2 separate regions of the Homo sapiens genome follow, and region 1 is linked to region 2. The links are contacts of gene promoters, found by promoter capture Hi-C in human tissues and cell types (Jung and others, 2019). All regions are on one chromosome and are shown on one strand. The core of a region is centred on a gene start or on the middle of the fragment in contact, and the rest is flanking DNA. Distances in the headings are between cores, read along the strand shown.

Region 1 (7,202 bases), core at 2,983-5,482, 34 kb after region 2:
CTCCCTGCCTCAGCCTCCCAAGTAGCTGGAACTACAGGTTCACACCACCGCACCTGCCTAATTTGTTTTCTTTTTTCTTTTGTGTTGAGACAAGATCTTGTTTTGTTGTCCAGGCTGGTCTCAAACTCCTGGACTCAAGCAATCCTTCAGCCTCAGACTCCCAAAGTGCTGGAATTACATGTGTGAGCCACAATGCCTGGCCTAGGTAACAGCTTTAATTAAAAATTCTGTTTCATTAATATAAAATATGAGCTAATTCTTTATGATTCTTAAAAGCCAACAAAAAAACGCATGAAGCATGTAAAAACAAGGTATATAATAAAATAGTTTTCTCACAGCCATCACGAAAAGTCAAGGTCAGTGAAATTATTGCAAATTCTTAAGTCATTCCAATTTACAACACAGCTCTTTCAAATCAATTTAATTCACCTCTACAATTTTTCTCCATTTTTGGTAGACATTTTTGGCTTTGAATAGCTGAACTTTTAAAATTAAAATAAAACTTGCTGATTTGCAGTTAAATTATTTAATTATGCTGACTGCTAAGTTTTTGGCTTCACTTAACTTAATCTTTGTTTCTTCTCTACAGTGCAACTGTAGAATCCTAGTATCATAAATCATTAGTAGTTTAATCTTAGTTCCGTTCTTAAACCTTCTAAATTTTAATTTTGTCATTTTAAAAATAGATCCATAAAGAGTAAACAGGATGATGAATACAAAGAATATAGCATAGTTACTAGCAAGCAGTAGCCATTTATTAAATGCTGGTAAACGTCGTTGCTCTTGTTCTCAATTTCAGCTGAATTTTCAGGAGCCTCTTTAGTGATCTGTACAGCTCATCAGATCACCTTCAACAAAGAAACAACCACACGTATATGCAATGTGATTTAGTATCTAGCTTTCTTCTGTATTTCAGCCTTTCCAAAAGTAGCAATAACTACAGTAGTACCTGTAATTGCTTTGTTTACTAACTCACTTCTCTGCTGCTACCAGAGATTACTAGAAATTTACCATGATTATGTGGCAAATGAACTTTGCAAACTGTATTTTAGAGAATCTCTAAACACATTTTGAAAATGTCAAAAGGCAATCTTATAACAGATATATAAAACAATAGTGTTAATATCATCATATAATATTTTCTAATCTTGAAAGAGAGTCAAAGATTCTAGGAGATATTTATTCCACTACCTAGGTGATAAGCCACATTTGGAAGGATAGAAGGTAAAAATAAGAAAACAAAAATGAGAACAGGAAAATCAACACCTACAAAAGCCTCCCTTTTTTTCTTATCAAAGCCTGTGCAGGGGTCATGAAGCCCACATTTTGTGACAGGTTGTCATGAAAATAATGAGTAGATCTCTCCTTCCAAATTTTTAACGAAAGATTTATTAGAACATGGAAAGTCAGATTAAGAAGAATTGGGACCAAAGCCTGTTTAACTTACTTGGTTTGATGGTTAATAAAATAGTTTTTCCACAGATGGAATTTACTCAGTAATCCACATATTTGTCTGTTATTTCTATAATGAAAGGTCAACATCACCATATAAGGGGAAAGTGGGGAAAGGAAAGCTCTCAAATGTTTCTGTTTCTTGCTGACTTGTCCCAGGGTCTTCCTGAAGAAGAAACTAATTAAGGTAAAATAAAAATTTTGGTGTATCACCTTAGACTACTTAAAAATAAATGCCACATATTTTATACCATTATAGCAGCATTTTAATGTCTTCGTTATTATCCTGAAGTAATTTTTTTAATTTTATGTGACTCATTTAACACGTGCCTTTTGAAAATTAATCTCAATTGTCTTATTCGACTTATGGTAACGACTTAAGATTCTTATGTTGGTTGCTCTCCCTATCCATACTCCTGCATGCCTTTTCCCCCACCTTTTCAAGGGTCACACAGTAGGTAAGAGATTCAAACTAATCACAGACTACACCTTTTTGGCATCCTAAACAATGTCATAATACCATTTCTTACTTCAGGTGTGAGACATAGGTAAACACTTATGGTATATCAAGTTGTATGGTCCAGGCTTCCTCATCTCCACCGGCCAGTTTTGCTAGGGAAGGAGAACTGGGAGAATTGAATGGGAAGGATAACTCCTTTAGTTAAAACACCTACATTGAAAACACATATGTCTTCCATGGTGGTAATATGTATCTATCATTCTTCTAACTCTGAACATATTACTGTTAAATAAATTTCACATTTAAATTTTATTTATTCTTTGGGTTGGCAGATTCTTGCCCCATATGGTTTTTTTTTTAATTTATTTTTCACTATTGCATTAGGAGGAGATAGTCTAAATATGCAAAACTGACATATTCTCCTTTGTGTATTCAAAAATAAAAATCACATTTTTAATGTGAGAAGAAGTAAAGATTAAACCAAGTATTAACTTGTCCTACATTTAATTTCTCTCCGAATCTCCTGGTTAAATTTATTCCTAAAATACTAAGCAATCCTCCAAAGCATGTAAGTAGGTATCTGCTCTTATTGGGTTATTTGGGGGAGTTGTGTGGATGGGGTGGGTCTGATTTTACATTTGTTTAAATAGATTTTTAAATTAAATATGTGAGCTTGGATAAATCTAAGAATTGATATAAGATTAATAATCTCCTTCGACAAGTTCCAAATATCTTTCACTTTCATTATTACACACACACACACACACTACACACTATATATATGTATATATGTATCTTTTAATGAGTTTTTATTTAAAAAATTTACATATGAAAATTTTCAAGCATACATAAAAGTAGAGGATATAATATAATTGCTTTATATATTTCAGACCAAACCAAAGCCTTTTTATTGCTGTATTCCATTTCTTTTTAGTAAAATGCAATCCAATTTGGTTAAAGGGAGCTGAGTTTTGAAACAAAGACTTTTGCAAAGCAGACAATTACATTAAAGAATTTCATTTGGCTGGGCGTAGTCACTCATGCCTGCAATCCCAGCATTTTGGGAGGCCGAGGTGGGTGGATCACCTGAGGTCAGGAGTTTGAGACCAGCCTGGCCAACATGGTGAAACCCAGTCTCTACTAAAAATACAAAAATTAGCTGGACTTGAAGGTGTGTGCCTGTAATCCCAGCTACTAGGGAGGCTGAGGCAGGAGAATCACTTGACCTTGGGAGGTGGAGGCTGCAGTGAGCCCAGATCAGGCCACTGCACTACAGCCTGGGTGACAGAGCAAGACTCCATCTCAAAATAAATAAATAAATGAAACAAATAAAATTTGTAAATAGAGTATTAGTAATTCCCCAACATGTGGGATTCATTTGTTTTTAAAGTCCATGTGAAGTCACTGGGGAGACTGCAAACTGGTACAATATGTTTCACAGTGAAAAGCTAAGGTCCACTTATATATTTGGAATCTGAAGTGTTAAAATATTTAAAATATTTGATGAAAATTTTTAATTTTTTGAAAAAGTTTAAAAGTTATTTTCTGACAAAAACAACCATTTCAACATCATGCAGATTTTTAAAACTTAAATTACTAATGAGGTTAAGTATTGTAGAACATAGAAATATAAAATGAAAAGTAGCGACATAATTTTGCAATGTTTAACTATGTAATCTAAAAAGTTTTCAGTCATCATTAATAAGCATTCATCACTCAGATCCCCCAATTAAAAAATAAAGAAATCCATAAAATATCCACAGTGTGATAGAACATACCACTCATTAAAAAGCATGCTAGTTTAATTCTCTCTGATGTAATATGTCTGATGTAATGCATATCTTAAATATATATATCACACATTGATAACATGAACTATTTTCACCCAAAATAGTTATCCTAGGGAAAGTTTGGCAAACTGGGAAATCGAAAATTATTTAAGTACTCTAACAGTGTAGAGACAGATGAAGTAAGCTTGTATAGAAAGTAATTCATTGAAGTCAGAATCATCTATACAAAGAAAAACATCTAATAATAATGGAAAATTATGTCCATTCGTGATGAAGCAGTTTGGGATTTTTTTTTTTTTTTTTTTCTGAGACAGAGTTTTGCTCTTGTTGCCCAGACTGGCCAGGCTGGCATGCAGTTGTGTGATCTCAGCTCACTGCAACCTCTGCCTCCCAGGTTCAAGCATTTATCCTGCCTCAGCCTCTTGAGTAGCTGGGACTACAGGCATGCACCACCACACCCAGCTAATTTTTGTACTTTTTTAGTAGAGACGGGGTTTCACCATGTTGGCCAGGATGGTATCGATCTCATGACCTTGTGATCTGCCCACCTTGTCCTCCCAAAGTGCTGGGATTACAGGCCTGAGCCACCGTGCCTGTAGTAATGTAGTGTATAATGGGAAATTTTTTTTTTAATGCTGTGTTAGTTCATTCTCAAATGACTATATAGCTGCAACTGGGTAATTTATGAAGAAGAGCTTTAATTGCCTCACAGTTCTGCTTCTCCTTTAAATATCAGTTCTGACTTTAGGTCATTTCTTTGCTTATGTATCCCAGTATAGGTTGTTAGAAGCATCCAGGTCACTTTTTTTGGGCGGGGGTTGGTGGGGGCGGAAGAGAGTTTTGCTCTATTGCCCAGGCTGGAGTGCAGTGGCACAATCTCAGCTCACTGCATCTTCCGCCTCCCGGGTTCAAGCAATTCTCTGTCTCAGCCTCCTGAGTAGTTGGGATTACAGGCACCCACCACCATGCCTGCTAATTTTTTTTGTATTTTTAGTAGAGACAGGGTTTCACTATCCCTACCAGGCTGATCTTGAACTCCTGACCTCGTGATCCACCCACCACTTCTTGAATGCTTTGCTGCTTAGAAATTTCTTCCACCAGATACCCTAAATCATCACATTTAAGTTCAAGTTCCACAGATCCACAGGGCAGGGGCACAATGTAGCATAGTTGTTCGCTAAGGCATAACAAAAAATGACCTTTTCTCCAGTCCCCAATAAGTTCCTCATTTCCATCTGAGACCTCCTTAGCTTGTATTTCACTGTCCATATCACTATCAGCATTTTGGTCACTACCATTTAAAACCAGTCTCTAGGAAGTTCCAAACATATCCTCATCTTCCTGTCTTCTAAACACACACTCTCTCTTTTGCTCCTGCTTCCACCATGTGAGATACCTGGCACCCCCTTGCCTTCTACCATGATTGGAAGCTTCCTTATATCTCCCCAGAAGCAGAAGCTGCTATGCTTCCTGTACAGCCTGCAGAACCGTGAGCCAATTAATCCTTTTTTTCTTTATAAATTTTCCAGTCTCAGGTGTTTTTTTAGAGCAATACAAGAACAAAATAATACAAATGCATTCTACATTCATTTTTTTTGAACTAAAGGAAGTGATAGAGAAATAGAACATCTGATTCTTGGATAAAAATTGACAATGAGTAAGAGTTTTAATTCTTATTACAAGAGTAGGCAAAATTAGGAAATATGCTTTGAGACTAACATGTCATTGTTCTTTTCACCTAAGCGTTCTGTCCTCTGTTTCATTAGCGAGATCTGAGAATGCCTGTTCCTGCAAGAAGAAGGAGCAGTCCTATGTATCTGGGCTGTAATGCTGAAGAGGGCCAAGTGGCTCCCTGTGAGTCCAGATAAAGGATATATTATTCAAGAGAAAAACTTGTAACTACTCTAAACTTAAGACAGATTTATTTAGTCAGCTGGGAATTCCAGAGACTCAGGCAGATACCTAAGAGCATGTTTAATTGCTCTAAGCCCCTGATTCCTGATTTCCTAATTTTATATGTATATAATGGTTATCAGTTCTGTAGAATAGTTTTATGGTAACTGACATACTTTGTTAAAGCTTACTTTCTTACTTCTTTTCTTTTTTGGTGGGATTAGTTAGAAAATGATCTCAATACATGTTTCTATATACATATGGATGTTTAGGCCAAAATAAAATTGGGTTCTGTGTTCTGGAGGTTATCAAAAAATCTACTATACTCTAGGTAGTTAAGTCTAGACTGTAAACATCAGGTTGTTAATATTTTAGCATATTAACACTAAAATTATCATTGCTATATATGTTTCTTGAGCATCAGCATTTATATAGAAATAAATATTTATATTTCTATTTTTATCTTAGTTATTACATCTCTCCTCTCTTTCAGATTATGCTTAGAGGATTCTGCAGCAATTCTCAGTATTGGACATATTCAAAATCTCCTCAACGTATATCCTTCCCATCTATTGCCTTCCAGCTTTAACTCAGTTGTGCTCCCTTCAAACATTTTACATGATTTGCGATGGTTACATGAACTCTGGGGAAGTGATATTTGCAACATCTCATACTTTATTCACTATGGCACTTTAGGAAACGAAATTGGGAAAAAGCTTCCAAAACATTATTCTAAAAAATGAATCTTATTGTGAAACTTCGGAGAAGTTTTCGAACATTGATTGTTCTCTTAGCTACCTTTTGCTTGGTGAGCATTGTCATTTCTGCCTATTTTCTCTACTCTGGCTACAAACAGGAAATGACACTTATTGAAACCACTGCAGAAGCAGAATGCACTGACATCAAAATTCTACCATATAGGTCAATGGAGCTGAAAACAGTTAAACCTATTGACACATCCAAAACGGACCCTACTGTCCTTCTCTTCGTGGAGAGCCAATACTCTCAACTCGGTCAAGATATCATAGCTATTTTGGAGTCCAGCCGATTTCAGTACCACATGGTTATTGCCCCTGGAAAGGGAGATATACCTCCTCTTACAGATAATGGCAAAGGGAAATATACTTTAGTTATTTATGAAAATATTCTGAAGTATGTCAGCATGGACTCATGGAATCGAGAGCTTTTAGAAAAATACTGTGTGGAATACAGTGTTAGTATAATCGGTTTTCATAAAGCCAATGAGAACAGCTTACCAAGTACACAATTAAAAGGCTTTCCGTTAAACCTTTTCAATAATCTAGCTCTAAAGGACTGTTTTGTTAACCCTCAATCTCCTTTGCTGCATATTACCAAAGCCCCCAAGGTTGAGAAAGGCCCTCTTCCTGGGGAAGACTGGACTATTTTCCAATATAATCATTCAACCTACCAGCCTGTACTTTTAACTGAGTTACAGACAGAAAAATCCCTGTCATCCTTGTCTAGCAAAACACTCTTTGCAACGGTGATTCAGGATCTGGGGCTTCATGATGGAATTCAGAGAGTACTTTTTGGCAACAACTTGAACTTTTGGCTGCACAAGCTCATCTTCATAGATGCCATCTCCT
Region 2 (6,406 bases), core at 1,805-4,304:
TTATTAGTTCAACAAGTTCAATTCAATTTTTTAAAAATCCATTGAGGTCTTAATATAAGTCTGGACCTACATCTTAATAGATAAAAGAACAATTATATTATACTTTATAGAGTGCTTAAAGAAACTTAAAAGCATCCACTTTCTTCTTAAAAGTCAACTATAAGCAATTGGGTGAATGCTTTGCATTGCGTGTATTGTTGAAAATGAGCTGACTTGATGCTACATTTTGATATTTAAGTGCAAGCCCTGTAAATTGTGGAACACAAGTTAAATGATTTAAAAAATTAAAACACTTTGAGCAAGTAATTATTTCCTCTTTTCTCTCTTGTGTATTACATTTCTTCCCAGAAATGTCCAAGGTCATTTATTTCATTTTCCCAACATGACAGATGAGAAAATGATAAAAGATTACAAATTCACAAATATGTTTGTTTTAGTCATTTGCGAATACAATATACAAAGAAAAGTATAAGAAAAATATTCAAAATACTTTGAGGATTATTTTGTTTTGTTTTAGTGTGAGTGTTGTGAATTTCTCTGGTTTTCCCCAGGAATAGAAAAGAAAGCACTTTTTGGTGGGTTTCCATTCATTTATACATATGTATATGGTGGGACCCTCTGCCTTCAGTACTTAGTGTATTTCTGAATGAAAAATGAGGCAGGGAGAGTAAAGTTGGGTATTTTTTCCCTAAATTGAATTTTAATTACTCATCTCTGGATTTTTTGAATTTCAAAGTTCATGTTTCACAAATATTTAAAAGAATTTTACCTTTAATAAGAATATCTTCTATTAATATTTTATATAGCATTTTTACACTGTGAAAGTAGTTACCTCTTCAGCTTAAAACATTGTTTATAGTTTAATGCTAGAGAAGAAGTTGATCAACATTTTTCACTTGTAATCATCAATGGATATCAGCTCTAGTTTATCACTAGAGCCGAGGATATAAACCCTGCTCCATGTTTTAATGTGATGGGTTTTATCTTCAGATCACTGTGTTGCCATTTAGTTCCAATAAATGAAAATACTCTGATAAAGTGGCATTCTTGAGTTGTGAAATAGAACTATGTCAATAATATAAAGATGTTGAGCATTTATAATAGTTTTTCATTTAAATTATTTTTCTAAAGTTAAGACTTAAAAATAATTACCCAACTTGAATAAAGAAGAAGGCATTATTAGTAAGCCAAACTACATACAACAGAAAAATCTTCAATTGGCTTTTACAATTTATGCTATTTTATGTTATTTATCAACTGTTAGTGTTTCCCATGATGCTACTCTAGTAATAATTATTTTATTATGACATCTTTGAAATATTTAACTGCAGTTTATTTATCCATTTTGAATTTTGATGTGTATCACTCTGAAAATTCTGACTTGACTTCAATGCATCTTTGCATTCCAAATGTTTTAAAAGGTAGTAAGAAGTACCTGAACGCTTTAATTATTTTTAAAATATAAATTTTTTCTTTAATATATTTTAGCCTGTGCACCTGAAAAACTAACTGATACATGACCTATGAGTTACTAGGTTTTATTTATTGCTTATGAATAACTGGTAAATATTTTTTCTAACTTGCTAGATTTTTTTTCCCTATTCTCTGTATGGCATATGTCTATGGCTTGCTAACCCTCAAAACCTTGTGCAGTATAATAATACTAGTAATCCTGGATGCATTAAAATTATTCTTCTGAAAGACCACATCATCAATAAATGCTGAGTTTTGAAGGACTCCCTCCTACCCCTACCTTCCAGTCTTATAGAGGATTTCATTGAAACCACACCAGTATTTCAAGTGGAACTACTACGTACAACCAAAGACACCCATATACCTGAGGAGGACTTGGAGTTGAGAAAAGCTTGTAGTTCTGTTCTGCAACCTATTAGGGGTGTTGAACCAAATTCTCATTAGCCTATCTTATTCCACTAAATTAAATGGTAGAAACTAAGGGATGTACTAAAGCAAGAAAAGCCCAGGGAATCATGTAGTCTGGAATGAGGAGAAGTACCTGAAAGCACTTTACTTTTACTTTTACATATATCCTAATGAATAAGTTTAAAGAACTTTACATAATGTATATAAAAGTACTTGATAATATCTTTATGTGTTTACACGAATTAATAGAAAACAAAGAGCAGGTAATTTTCAACTTATATTGCCACGTTAAAAAGAAGAAAAGAGACATAGAAAAGAACTTTTCCATAATAATCCAGTAGTTTACCTTAATTACTAAAACAATGCACACAATAAATTCACACGCACATACTCTTTCTTTTCTTCTAACATTTATCATGGTCTAAAATGCTGTTATTAACTTCAGGACTATGTAGCTTACTAATACTTGTCCGAGTTTCCTATTGCTCATTGTTGGCTTTTGTTGAGTTTGTAATTTTTGTGTTTAACTGGCACACATTTACAGCAGAAAATCCTGCTTTGAACTTTTCTTATTTTGTCCAATAGAATCTCGTGGAACAGTGTCATAGCTGCAAAGTGGAATTCTATCCTCAAATTTCATAGGAAATAGTCGAACTGTACAATGAAAGATTATGCAAATCTTCAAGGAGCATCTAATCAATCACCGCGGTGTGAGCGGAATGCAGCCCATCGCTGAATTAGCTTCTGTTGGAATGTATTCATGTGTAACATCCCACTGACTGGATGACATCACAACAGCTCCAGGTCCTTGAAAGTCTTGAGGATGATTAGCTGAAGGAATTGGCTGTTTCTGCCAATCATAATCCGGCAAAGCTGCCTTTATAGTTCTGGAGATGTGAGAGAGAGGGAGGGAGGGAAAGACCGACTACAGCTAAACAAGAGGCACAGCAGCACTAGCAACAGCAGAGCAGGAGCAGCTGGTATTCCGGTGATTAAATAGTTCTCATAGCCTTTTTGCTGTACTCGGTCTGCTCCCTGGTGTAATTCTCGTGTCCAAGAAGGAAGCTGCATTTTAACGGTGTGCTGAACAGAGGTTTGAATCATTCCAGCTGGCTGCTTGTTTTGAAAAGGACAATGTGTGTATAAATAAAAGGACTCTGCTGGAAGAGTTCAGACACTAAGACTGGAGCTAGAGAGTGCTCTTGGAATATTGTTGAGGCAGATTGCATGAACTGAAAGCTCCTTCTAATTAACCTGGAGCCAAGTGAACCTGAATACTGGATATCTCATGTTCTAACACGGGATAAATTCAAGTTAGAAAAAGACAAAATATTGAAATGCTTCTCTAGGTAAGTTACTGCTTAATTTGCTGAAATCGAGGTGTGTATCATAAATGAATATGCGTTGCTTAGCTATGTAAACAAGTCGGACACAATAAAGTTTTATTTGTGAAAGATTTATGTAGAAGCAGATAATATCTTAAAACCAAATTCAATCTCCCTTTTCCGCATGTGTGTGCTTACCTGTCATCATGCTTTATAGAAGTTATATTTGCACGTAAGTAGAAAATACAGTCGTACATAAAAAAAAAGAGATACAACTTGATAAAATTTAAACAGTTGCCGGAACATTTGCATAGGAAATATCTTATTTGATAACAACTTTAGCCTTTTCATATTAAAAGCACCAATTTTACAAACTCAACATCCAAAGTTAACTGTAGGGTTATAAATGTTTCCCTAATAAGTGTTACTGAAAACATGGCATTCAAATTACCGAAGATGGGAACTCCTGTTTTTTGGACCTGAGATTTATAGGCATGCTCTGTACTAATGGTCTGCTTTAGAGAAACAGCTGTCACAGACATGTGAAATTGTATGTTACAGTCATAAATTGCTTATAAAGAAATAGGTGCTTTCCTCCTACCTCCTATTAGAAAAGAAAAATAAATTCTTAGAACAATATATGTCATATGCCCTAAGCATAGTTTCCTAGGAGGACAGAAAGCTTTATGGTATACCTCCAATTTCCTCAAGCACAGAATAAGTTGGAAAACAAGAAATGTTATTGGAATATGGTTTTACTCATTCTTTTCAATATTCTTTTTGAGAAAGCTAAATAAGGAAAATTAAACCTTATTTTTCTTAGAATTTGTCCTGATTAATAAAATACTATATTCTACAGAATTCCTGTCATAGTTTTTTTAAGTGATTATATGTTTTGTTTATTATGATAAGTTATACTGTGAGTTCTCATACAGCTTTAGAAAGTTTTAAGTTTATGTTTTATCATGTCTCTTTCAAACTCACCTTTGCTTGTTTTCGTGGTGCCTTTTATCAGAATATTTTTCATTTGCACAGTTTCATAAATGCTTTAACATAAATTGCATACCAAGATACTGATGTGTTTCTGTAACTCTCAGAATGATTTTAGTTTTCCACTTTCTCACCAACAACATGGTTAAAATCCTGTGAGGTTTCTGCCCCAAGAGGAAATTGATAAAGATGAAAGTTATTGTAATTGGTTGAATTTCCCCAAAACTAGGAAGCAATGAATTTTCCCACAACGATGTAAAGGTTTTTTTTTTTTTTTCATATCAAAAGAGTAATTTATTCTACTCTATTAAAAGTATGCCAGTTAGCTATATCCCAGTGTCACATAGGTTCTGTGCTGGTCATTTGTGTGCATGAGTGTGTGCGTGTGTGTGTGTGTGTGAGTAGCAAGTTTATGTAAAGAATATAAAGTCCACTGACTACAACAGTCTAAGTTTTCAACTGGAATTCATAAAAAACTAATTAATAAGCAAAATATAATTGCCATTTACATTTATCTCAATATATAAATGGGAAGTTAAGCCTACTATTGTTGACATTTTTAAAAATAAGAAATCGTATGACAATACATTATGATGATCAATATTAAACAATGTTTACATTGATAGACATCTCATAATAAGCTAATTGGGAAGATTTTTAGAAATTGAATACTAAGCAGAATGGGCCTTTTAACTCTATCTGAATGGCACCTGGTCACCACTAAGACTGATACATAAAAACCCTTTGAAAAAGTTATAATATATATGAGTTACTAATATAACTTGAAAATCACCCTTAGATCCAATTTAGAAACTCAGGCATTATTTTTAAATAAAAGGAAGGTAAAACCTCCTGAAAATTTGAATTTTTTAAATTGATTAATGCAAATATATAAATAATAAATAAAAATGCAAATATATGTAAATTACATTTTGTTTTCTCCAAGATAGGCTTATTATTTAAGAAATGTGTAATTTTAAATATATTATCCTAAACATCAAAAGGAAGTATATGGGGACTATTTTTATATATAAATATATTAAGTCATAATTTGGAATTTCTATAATTGATAATCAAAATAGAAACATATGCTCATGCTTATGTTCACCTCAGGAAAATAAGGATCTTTCATTTTTTATTTGAGATTAAAAACTGTTATACCTATTCTTTCTTCTCCCAAAGAAAAGCATTCTATACTTGGATTTAAAATAAACATAATTCAATCTCAATACTAACATTAGTTCTTAAACGTACTAAATAAATGTTTCCAACCCAGTAGAACAGTTGTCCCCAGTAGGTTAAATGTTCATATGATCCCCTTGTACTTTCTGTTTGAGTTGAAAGGGGGCCTTTGGAAATAAAATCCAAAGATCAAACTTTGTGTGCATCATTTACAAGCAATTACTAAGGGAGAAGAGAGAAGCATTTAGCATACTGTGTTCAAACTAGAAGATTCTGGCTGGTGCTGCCTTCCCAGATTTAGAAAGCAGCTGGGGAAACATAAAATAAAGCTAGAATATCAGCCCTGGCTGGAAGCCAAGACAGAGAAGCTGTGCACCCAGAAGGCTAATTCTTTCTGGGCTAAAATTCATTGATAATGCATTATGTTTAGAGTCTAACCTGAAGTGTTATTTTTTTTCTCCAGTACAAACTGTGGGATATTTAAAGAACAAATATATTTTCTAAGTAGAATTAAATTTTAAACTAACAAAGGTTTCTTCTTTATTAAAAGTTGCTCTGTTGAAAAAATGCAAATAAGCCTACCAGAAACTCCTATAAAATACAGTTTATTCTCAGGAAAAGAAAAAGAAATAACGATGAGATGCATCATCTAACCATGATCTTGGAGAGGCAGAGAGATCAGAAATGACACATATGGATACATGCCAAAACAAAGAAATGTGAAAGTTTTATTAAAATACCTGGCCTAGTAAAATTTACAGTAAAGATACACACACTAAATACTGTTGTAGCATATATCTTCTGAAGGTAGGCAGCAAACATAAGGTAAACTCTCATTACGTACCCCCAGATAACTAGGAAAAAGAGAAACCATGTTGTCTGTTGATTTATTTGAAGTTTACGAAGTGAGATAAATGGGTCAGGTGTCAGACACAATGCTACCGCCTTCAGCCATCATGATAAAACATCTAGCCAGCCTTTTCTTTAACACTTCAGGAAACTTTCAGCTATGCTGTTATGCAGGGTGT

The links. The method cuts DNA at HindIII sites, captures the fragments that hold promoters and counts their contacts. A contact is called where the count stands out against the background at its distance.
Region 1: a fragment that was not itself captured here is called in contact with the fragment with the promoter of NDST4 in region 2 in 1 of the 25 tissues and cell types used here (heart left ventricle).

Annotation. Positions count from the first base shown.
Region 1 is chr4:115,076,169-115,083,370 of GRCh38, reverse strand. It overlaps NDST4 (N-deacetylase and N-sulfotransferase 4), which reads left to right. Exons shown (of 14, transcript NM_022569.3): 2 at 6,089-7,202. The coding sequence starts at 6,335. Among named protein-coding and RNA genes, the nearest start is that of NDST4, 34 kb to the left of the region's middle. The HindIII fragment of the contact is 6,354 bases long and covers 1,056-7,202 here.
Region 2 is chr4:115,110,268-115,116,673 of GRCh38, reverse strand. NDST4 (N-deacetylase and N-sulfotransferase 4) reads left to right here and starts at 3,054. Exons shown (of 14, transcript NM_022569.3): 1 at 3,054-3,230. The HindIII fragment of the contact is 5,437 bases long and covers 1-5,165 here.